Linked DNA regions of Homo sapiens: region 1 is linked to region 2. Evidence: promoter capture Hi-C in human tissues and cell types (Jung and others, 2019). All regions are on one chromosome and are shown on one strand. The core of a region is centred on a gene start or on the middle of the fragment in contact, and the rest is flanking DNA. Distances in the headings are between cores, read along the strand shown. Region 1 overlaps RNF213 (ring finger protein 213). Region 2 holds the start of SGSH (N-sulfoglucosamine sulfohydrolase).

Region 1 (4,855 bases), core at 1,876-4,375, 51 kb before region 2:
CCACTCACACACCCCCAACACACACACATCCCATTCACACCACTCACACACCCCCCAACACACACCCCACTCACCCCCCACTCACCCCCCACAGACACCCCCCTCACCCCCCACTCACCCCACTCATCCCCCACAGACACCCCACTCACACCCCACACTCACCCCACTCACCCCCCACAGACACCCCACTCACCCCCCACACTCACCCCACTCACCCCCCCCAGACACCCCACTCACCCCCCACACTCACCCCACTCACCCCACACACTCACCCCACACCCCCCACAGACACCCCACTCACCCCCCACACTCACCCCACTCACCCCCCACAGACCACAGCACTGCGGCTGCATCACTTCCCACCATAGCCCAACCATGGAGTGCCACCTACAAGGAACGACAGACAGAAAGCCAGCCCCAGTGCAGACACAGAAAGACAGCTTCCCCTTCTCCGTGCCCAGCAAGAAACCCGGGAGCTGACACTGCCCTCTGGGTCTTCCCAGGCCGCGCTAGAGCCCAGGAGCCCTTCTCTTCCAACCATTCTCCTTGAACATGTCCAGGACGCTCCCCTCGAAAGCCTCGCCTAGTGCTCCAACTGGGAATCTTAACAAGGACGCATTCTCTTGGTGTCTAACGCCTAAGAGGCTGTTCAAGGCCAGAGGGAGCCAAAAGGTGGCTCAGCCATACCCTTCCAAGAAGGGTAACCTGCCAGCCAGCACATTTCCAGAGCACCCACCCCACACCCAAAGCTTCAAAGCCCCTCTGGGCACGCACCCTCAATGCAGAGGCCTACAGAAGCGCAAGACACGCACCCAGCGGACGCTCAGGTCCCTGCCCCGAAGCAGCAAGGCACCTCTGAGCTTGCACCCTCAATGCAAAGAGACCCACAGAAGCTTGGGACACAGATACACACGGCAGAAGCTCAGGCCCCACCCCAGCCACAGCTTCTGGGAGACACACGAGTATTGGGTCTGGTAGAAAGAAAAGGAAGGTGGAGGCCGGGCGCGGTGGCTCACACCTGTAATCCCAGCACTTTGGGAGGCCGAGGTGGGTGGATCTCCTGAGGTCAGGAGTTTGAGACCAACCTGACCAACATGGTGAAACCCCGTCTCTACTAAATACAAAAAAATTAGCTGGTCGTGGTGGTGCATGCCTGTAGTCCCAGCTACTTGGGAGGCTGAGGCAGGAGAATTGCTTGAAACCAGGAGGTGGAGGCTGCAGCGAGCCGAGATCGCACCACTGCACTCCAGCCTGGGCAACAAGAGCGAAACTCTGTCTCAAAAAAAAAAAAAAAAAAAAAAAGACGGTGGAGGCCCCAGGGGGTCTGGAACCCACAGACTCCAGCCAGAGATGAATCAGGTGCAGAAGGGGCAGCTCTGCTGCTGCCCTGTGGGCAGGTTCAATGGGCTGGGCCATGGTGGCATTTTCGGGGGCTAGCTGGGCAGCTGTGCAGTGAGATTTTCCTGGGCAGAGTGAGCGGGGGCGGAGGGGAGCCGAGGCAGTGCACTCACTTCTTGGACGGTCCAGGAGGCTTTGGAACAGGGCTCCTCGGGGTTTTCTTGCCAACTGTCTGAGCCCGGGAACAAGCACGGGCCCCCTTCCTCCTTCAGCTCCTGCCCACACTCCATTTCACCCTCCGAGGCCGACGCCATTGTGGAGTTATTGTTCTCAGAATCTGTAACGGCAGATGAAGGAAGGGTCAGATCTCAGAGAGAAGCGAGTGTTAGGAAGGAAAAACAGAAATCCTCCCCACGAGTGCATGGAGAGATTCACCCTGTTCTCCCTCCGAGGTCCTGCATTGGGCCTGCTAACATGAGCAGGGTAGGGGTTCTGCTCCAGGTGGGTAGGAGGGAACCAGGGACCCCAGTTTCAGCACAACAAGGGGTGAATCAGACAGAAAGACTGTGCCGTCCTAGCATCCAGCCTCTTCCTCCCAATGTCCACGAGTGGATTCACCTGACTCTGTACTAGGATGTCAGCGCACCTCGGGCACCTCTAAAACAGAGCCTGTTACGCTTTCCTCCCCTACTGTAGACATTCCTCCTGTCTTCCCCAGGGTGGGCATTCTCCCAGTGGCGGCCCAGGGGTCTCAAACTGCTTCCCTTGTCCTGGCACTAAGGCATCTGCCCGCCCAGCTGCTCTGCCTCCAGATTCTCACCCATGCAGAGCTGCCATGCAGACAGCATGGAGCACCCACTCTGCCAGCCCCACACTCACTCTAGCCTTCATTGTGGTGTGGACGCACTTTGTCCATCCCCACCAAAACTCATGTTGATCCCCAGTATGCCAGTGCTGGGAGGCAGGGCTGCGGGGAGGTCTGTGGGTCGTGAGGGCAAATCCCTCACGAATGGCTTGGTGCCGTTTGCGGTCATGGGTTTACTCTTGAGAGGCTTGTTTACTCCCCTCGGGAATGGATTAGCACCCGCCAGGTGGGTTGTTATGAAGTCAAGATGTCCCATCAGGCTTAGTCTTTCACAGCTGTCAGCATCCCCGTCGGCCTACTCTGCCATGTGGCACAAAAGCCCTCACCAGACATCAGGGCCAGGCCCTGAACTTCTCAGTCTGCAGAACTGTGAGCTAAATAAACCTCTTTTTTCTTTTTCTTTTTTTATTTTATTTTATTATTTTTTTTGAGACAGAGTCTTGCTCTGTCGCCCAGGCTGGAGTGCAGAGGCACAATCTTGGCTCACTGCAACCTCTGCCTCCCAGGTTCAAGCAATTCTCCTGCCTCGGCCTCCCAAGTAGCTGGGATTACAGGTGCATGCCACCACACCCGGCTAATTTTTGTGTTTTTAGTAGAGACAGGGGTTTCAGCATCTTGGCCAGGATGGTCTTGAACTCCTGACCTCATGATCCACCCGTCTTGCCCTCTCAAAGTGCTGGGATTACAGGTGTGAGCCACCCCACCCGGCCTCTTTTCTTTTTTCTTCTTTTTTGAGACGGAGTCTCGCTCTGTCACCCAGGCTGGAGTGCAGTGGTGCAATCTCGGCTCACTGCAACCTCCACCTCCTGGGTTCAAGTGATTCTCCTGCCTCAGCCTCTGGAGTAGCTGGGATTACAGGCATGCGCCACCACACCCAGCTAATTTTTTTTGTATTTTTAGTAGAGACGGGGTTTCACCATGTTGGTCAGGCTGGTCTTGAACTCCTGACCTCGTGATCCGCCCACCTCGGCCTCCCAAAGTGCTGGGATTACAGGCTTGAGCCACCACACCCGGCCTTTTCTTTTTCAATTACCCAGGCTCGGGTACTCTTATGGCAACAGAAAATGGACGAAAACACCCTTCAAGGAGTCCCTGTTTTCAATCCTGGGTCTGGACGACCCCACCTCTCCCTGACACACACTCCAGATGGTGCCAGGCCAAGCCTGCTTTTCTGTACAGAACCTTCCCTCTGCCTGATCCCCACAGACCCTTCTCCAAGGCCCCAAGCCAGTCCCAGCTGCGCCCCTGTCTGGACACTTCATCCCCACGCCCGTTTCCAGCACCTGGTTTCGTCACTGCCCTCTCCTCCTCTGAGATCTGGAGGGCAGGGACCACGCAGACCTTTTTCCCTTTGAGTACTCAGTGTTGGCGTAGCCAAGAGCTCAAGAATTCGTGAAGTTCCTTAGCAGGACTCAAAATTGATAACAAATCCTCTAAACGTCTACATACATAAGACACACATGAAACATCACAGCCAGAAAGTAAGAGCTGGAGAAAGATCTGCAACAGGCGACCCAAGGCCCCATCCTTCGAGAGCTGCTGTTTCACCTACAACCAGGGATTCTGAGCCTGCCCCTCCCACCAACCTACCCTCCCACCAACCTACCCTCCCACCAGGGGCGGGCCCTGACTAGCCTAATCCAATCAGGGCCGATATTTACCCTGGCACTAGTGATTGACTAAGGGAAGGGCCAACCAGCAAGAAGTATGGAAGCATCCATACTTCTGGACCCTTACTGGGGTTTCTGCCACTCAGTGCATCCTGGAAAGACCATGAGGTGGTGCTGGGAAACCACTGTCTGTTCTCCTCCACCTGCAGACAAAGCTGGCAGTGGAGAAGGGCAGAGCTGTCAGGATCAGAGAAATGGAGCAAAGCCCTAGTACACTTGAACCCCTCAAGCCTGGACTTGGGCAACGGTGACCCAGCACGTTTCTCTTGCTGAGCAAGCCTAGGAGAGCTGGGTTTCAGGCTGTTCCCAGTATAAACAGTCCCAACAATCATAAGGACCAACCAAAGCAAAACGAGCTTCCCTAAAGACAGACAGGCCGCTCAAGGAAATACACATACATGTGGTCTCTTAACTTCCAAAGAGATGCCTGCCATGCCTACTGATGAAGGAAATCAGAACGGAGGCCCTGCAGTGCCATTTCCACCCAACGACCGGCACAGATTGACAAGATCCATCATTCTGAACGCTGGAGAGAATCTGAATAGAAATCTAGAAGGCAGGGAGCACAGAGACGCGGCCAGTGAGTGGCCAGAGAAGCTTTGTGCAGGGGATTTGAAGAGATTTGCATTGTAAATGTGCCAGCCTGAAGCCAGCAGGCTAGTGGCTGGGAATCTGTCCTCCAGACGGCCAGCCTGGCTCAGAGGGCAAGGTCTCCGTGCAAGCATGCAGCCTAGCAGCCTATGTCACGGCAAAACAGCAGGACAAGGGAAGTGCCCAGGATAGGCCTGTTGCTGAGTCAGGCCCTGCTGGGTGGCAGAGCCAGGGAGGCTGCTGAGGTCCGTCCTCCACTAGAGGCCTCAGCCACTGTACATGAAAGTAGCAAGGCATGCGCAGGGCACGAGCTGCCACTCACATTAACGTGTGTGTGTGTGCGCACACATTCACGCAGAGGAGATGTCTAGAAGAGGACACACCAGTTTAC
Region 2 (4,576 bases), core at 522-3,021:
CACCCAGCCTAATTTTTGTATTTTTAGTGGAGACGGGGTTTCACCATTTTGGTCGGGCTGGTCTTGAACTCCTGAGGCCTCCATGAGTCATCTCGCTGGCCCCTCCATAACCAGCTCAGTGTCTGTGTGTGCCAAACAGGCATAGGAGCCTGGGTCGGCCCAGAGACAATCTGCGTCACACACTGTAAACCAAAGGTTCCTTGGGGCCCAGGGGCTGGAAACCTGGAATCGCTGATGGTGTCTGGGATTGATACTGTGTATTCTGCACTGTTTCTGAGATATGGCTGGCAGCAGGGTCAGACGCCTCACCTGGGGCGGGAGTCCAGCCACTTCAGCATAGGCCAGCGCCTGGGGAATGGCAGTGAGGCCAACTGAGAGGCCGGCGACGAAATCCATCTTCAGCCACTGCAGGGAGTAGCTGGGCAGCCACGCCAGGATGGGCAGCCTCCTCTGCAGGGCCGCAGGGGAGCAGCAGCAGGCGCTCGGGGCCATCCCGGGGCCAGAGGACCTGGCCTGACCCAGCGCCGTCACCGAAGAAGGCATCTCTACGGTGGGGCTGGGGGGTGCAGGTGACACAGACCAGCAGTCAGAGCGTGGCCTTTGAAGAACCCGGCAACACTGGTCAGGGTCGGCGGGTGTCAGGAGAGGTCACTATGGGTCTCCCCTCCCCAGGGGGGCGAACGGCTCTAAGAGGAAGCCAACAATGTGTGCAAGATGGGGACTGGGCCAAGACTGGAAGGCCCACCCCGTCCCTCATCACCCTCTCTCCCTGAATCCCCCCCGTGCAAATCCTGGGTGCCTTCTGTCCCTCCATCCTCAACTCTCCCAGATAAGAAACTGATAAGCGATTCCTCATTGAGAAGTCTGAAGACTAATTAGGCTCAACACTTCTGGCCCCTGGAGAACCGACTTCCTTTGCCTTTTTTTCCGTCTCCCCAGGGAATTTAACGGGGAGCAGCGCAGAGAGAAGCTGGGCCCGCGGGCGCACCGTAGGCTGGCGGGGGGTGCGGGTGGCAGCCAGGAGATCCAGCGGGGCTCCGAGGTTTTCCAACTGCGCACCAAGGCGGGCTCCACCCGCTACGGTGGACTGCGGCGCTCGAGGGAGAGTGGGGGGGTCCTCCGCTCCTGAGGCCACGCCTCGCTCAGCCCCCACCTGTGGCTTTCACAGCCCTGGAGTTCTAGTTGCTTCTGGGAGGACATCAGAGGCGCCCGGTTAATTCAGGTGCGCAGCATCTTCCAGGGCCCCGGCGCCCGCGCGCAGAGCCGCCACCCTCACCCCCAGCCCCCCACGCCCCCGGCCGCTCCGCTCCGGGCAAAATCCACTCCCCGGCCCCCGGCCCCGCCCACAAGGCCGCTGGCTCCGGATCCTGGGGTCTCCGGAGGAGACCCTGCGCCACCTGACCGTCCGCGGTCCCTTGGCCCCGAGCAAGGCCGAGGGCCGCGGGGACCCGGGTAGGGACGCGGCGGGGGAGTGGTCCCCACGGGAGGCCCCCGCACTTCAGGACTCCGCGCTGGCCCCCGCGTCGGCTGCCCCCGGCGACCCCGGCCACTGTCCGCTCCCCCTGCCCCTGGTCCCCGCTCGCCGCCCTCGCGGGCCACGGACTCACCCACTCGGCGATGCAGCTTGGGGTCTCCTGGCGTCGCCGCAGCTGGGTCCGCAGGAATCGCCGGGGACAGGCCGGGGCGGGGTCTGGCGCGCACGTGACCGGGGTCGGGGCAGGGGGCGGGGCCGAGCGGGAGACCAGAGAGCCGGAGCCGGATCCCGATCCCGAGTCCGAGCCGCCGCCGCCATGAGCTGCCCCGTGCCCGCCTGCTGCGCGCTGCTGCTAGTCCTGGGGCTCTGCCGGGCGCGTCCCCGGAACGCACTGCTGCTCCTCGGTGAGTGCCGGCGCCGCCCCCCCACGCCCACCTGCGGTGGCCCGGGGAAGTGGCCACTGGCCTCCTCCCCACCCGTGGTCAATGCTGACCCTAGTGTGCCCTGCCCTTGTATCCCCCGCTGCCATTCCCTCTCGTCCTCCTCTCTGTGCCGCCCCCAGACTCTTCACGGGTGTCTCCCCAGAGAGGGCAGCAAAGGCTGGAGGAGTGAGCCCCAGCATCCAGCACCCCTACACTTACCTCGTGCCGCCTGTCCCACCCTCCTCTGACCCTGCCCAGCCAGGGCTCAGGGGTCCACGGATCTCAAATCCCTCTTGGGAGGGGATCCCAGAGGAGGGGCTGGTGCTCCGGTCCCCAGAGACTGCAGACAGGGTGCCCTCCTGGCTCTCATTTCCGACCCCAGAGCCTGTGTCTCAGCTGTCTTTTCCCTTATCCCAAGGGCACAGCCCTCCACCACCCACCCACCACCGTCTCCCCCAACCCCAGTCCCTCTCAGAAACCCCAGGTTCCTCCAGAGCAAGCACCGTGCTGCTCACAAGACTTCCGGTTTAGGTAATCAAGGCTCTGGCTCATGACAAGTGACAAGGCCAAACCCAAGGCCTGCGATTCTTTCCCCTTCTGAGGTCTGGCGCCCTGCCAGTTGCCCTCTTTCTGATTAATTTTGTGGTCTCTGGGCGGGGGTTCGGCTCACTGTAACATAAACAGCTCTCCTGCCAACTCCTCGCCTCCCAGAAACACAGCAGAGAATCTGCATGGACCCTCACCTGCGGATCAGAATTCCTACAGGAGGCTGTCAGAGTCCAGGCTATGCGGCCCCTGGGCTAGGGCCTTTCTTAGCACGGACTGCCATGGATCGGCTTAAACAGAAATGTATTTCTCACAGTTCTGTGGGCTGAAAATCCAAGGTCAGGGTGCCAGCTTGGTTGGGTTCCAGTGAGGGTCCACTTTCGGCTTACAGGTGGTCACCCTCTCACTGTTTCCTCACATGACAAGCGGATGGGGGTGGTCTCACTTCCTTTTCCTTTCTTTTTCCTTTCTTTCCTTTTTTTTTTTTTTTTTTTTTTTTTGTGAGACAGGGTCTCACTCTGTCACCCAGGCTGGAGCACAGTAGCACAATCACAGCTCACTGCAGCCTCAATCTCCCAGGCTCAAGCGATCCTCCTGCCTCAGCCTCCCAAGTAGCTGGGACCTCAAGTGCACATCACCATGCCTGGCTAATTTTTGTATTTTTTGTAGAGACAAGGTCTCACTGTGTTGCCCAGACTGGTCTCGAACTCCTGGGCTCAAGCAATCTTCCTGCCTTGGCCTCCCGGGTGCTGGGCTTACGGGCATGAAACACTGCACCCGGCCCTCTCTTTCTTTTCCTTTAAGTCCACAGTCCTGTCAGATCAGGATCTCATCCTTATGATTCATTTACCCTTAATTAAGGACCCTGTCTCCAGATACAGTGATGTTGACGTTAGGGCTTCAGCATATGAATTCTGGGAGGACACAGTTCAGACCATAGCAGGCCCACAGCCAAGTGCCGAGACACTCTGGGTTTGGAGAAGGGCAGCTTTCTTCCTGGCCTGCGGGTACGGAGCACAGCCCATCCCGCTCTCCCTCCAGGTTTACGTGGCTGCCATGTGCTCACACCTGTGGGTACTGTGGGGTGGAGGATGGAAGCCCAACTGGAAGGTGCCCAGCCTCCTCTGTCCATCCATGGACCACATTGCCTCTGAGGGAGCTGGGGAAAGTGTTGGTCTGGGGGTTCCCACCAGCCTCTCCTGTGGTGCCCCCAGTGTCCTCTACTCCAGAGCAGGGGGAAGAAGCTTGGTGTGGTTGTAGGAGTTCAGCGGCCTGTCCCTGTTTCCTGCTGCCCAGTGTGTGGCCCTGGGCACTGCACCTCACCTTTCTGGGCCTCAGCTGCTTTGTGTAGGATGAAAGGGTTGAAATAGACAACCTGCAAGGTCACTAGGCCTTTGAGATGGCATCAGTGAGAAGCAGCGGTGGGACGCACACACATAGAGCTTTAGACGCGCCCTGGGCGAGGCTCTCCTGCCCTCTGCCCCATGCGGTTTCCGCTGAGCCCAGAATTGCCCAGCAGTTCTGTGGCCATGCGCTCAGCCGCTGTCTGCCTAAATGCCTAGCCGGCTAACACGCCCACCCAGGTAGCATGCCTGCTGGGGTATCATCAAGCTTGTTGGGTCATCATGCCTGCATGAGTATCTTGCCCACTTGGGTACCATGCCTGCCTGCTAACATGCCTATGCAGGTACCAGGCTTGCCTGGGTACCATGCCCATCTGCTTATACCCACCAGCTATCAGTCCAGCCTGTGTACCATGCCCACCTGCCAACATACCCACCGGGTATCATGCCTGCTTAGGGTATCATCAAGCTTATTGTGGTATGATGCCTGCTTATCATGCCCACTTGGATACCATGCCTGCCTGCTAACATACCAACCACGCATCATCCCTGCTGGATACCAGTCTACCTGCTAACATACCCACTGGTATCAGGCCTGCCTGGGTACCATGCCTACCTGCTTATACCCACCATCTATCAGTCCAGCCTCCATACCATGCTCACCTGCCAACATACCCACCATCTATCAATCAGTCCAGCCTCCATACCATGCTCACCTGCCAACATACCCACTGGGTATCAGGCCTGCCTGGGCACCCTGCCTGCTTGCTGATATACCCACCAGGTATTGT

The links. Contacts are between HindIII fragments. The study calls those that stand out against the background at their distance.
Region 1: a contact is called between a fragment that was not itself captured here and the fragment with the promoter of SGSH in region 2, in 1 of the 25 tissues and cell types used here (H1 embryonic stem cells).

The regions. Positions count from the first base shown.
Region 1 is chr17:80,270,061-80,274,915 of GRCh38, reverse strand. It overlaps RNF213 (ring finger protein 213), which reads right to left. Exons shown (of 68, transcript NM_001256071.3): 3 at 1,512-1,675. Among named protein-coding and RNA genes, the nearest start is that of RNF213, 12 kb to the right of the region's middle. RefSeq lists an enhancer at 280-878 and a silencer at 3,768-3,817. The HindIII fragment of the contact is 4,608 bases long and covers 822-4,855 here.
Region 2 is chr17:80,217,528-80,222,103 of GRCh38, reverse strand. It overlaps SGSH (N-sulfoglucosamine sulfohydrolase), which reads left to right and starts at 1,771. Exons shown (of 8, transcript NM_000199.5): 1 at 1,771-1,878. The coding sequence starts at 1,791. It overlaps SLC26A11 (solute carrier family 26 member 11), which reads right to left and starts at 1,677. Exons shown (of 18, transcript NM_001166347.2): 1 at 1,608-1,677; 2 at 989-1,188; 3 at 310-556. The coding sequence starts at 543. RefSeq lists silencers at 1,450-1,519, 1,540-1,809 and an enhancer at 2,610-2,729. The HindIII fragment of the contact is 8,333 bases long and covers 1-3,870 here.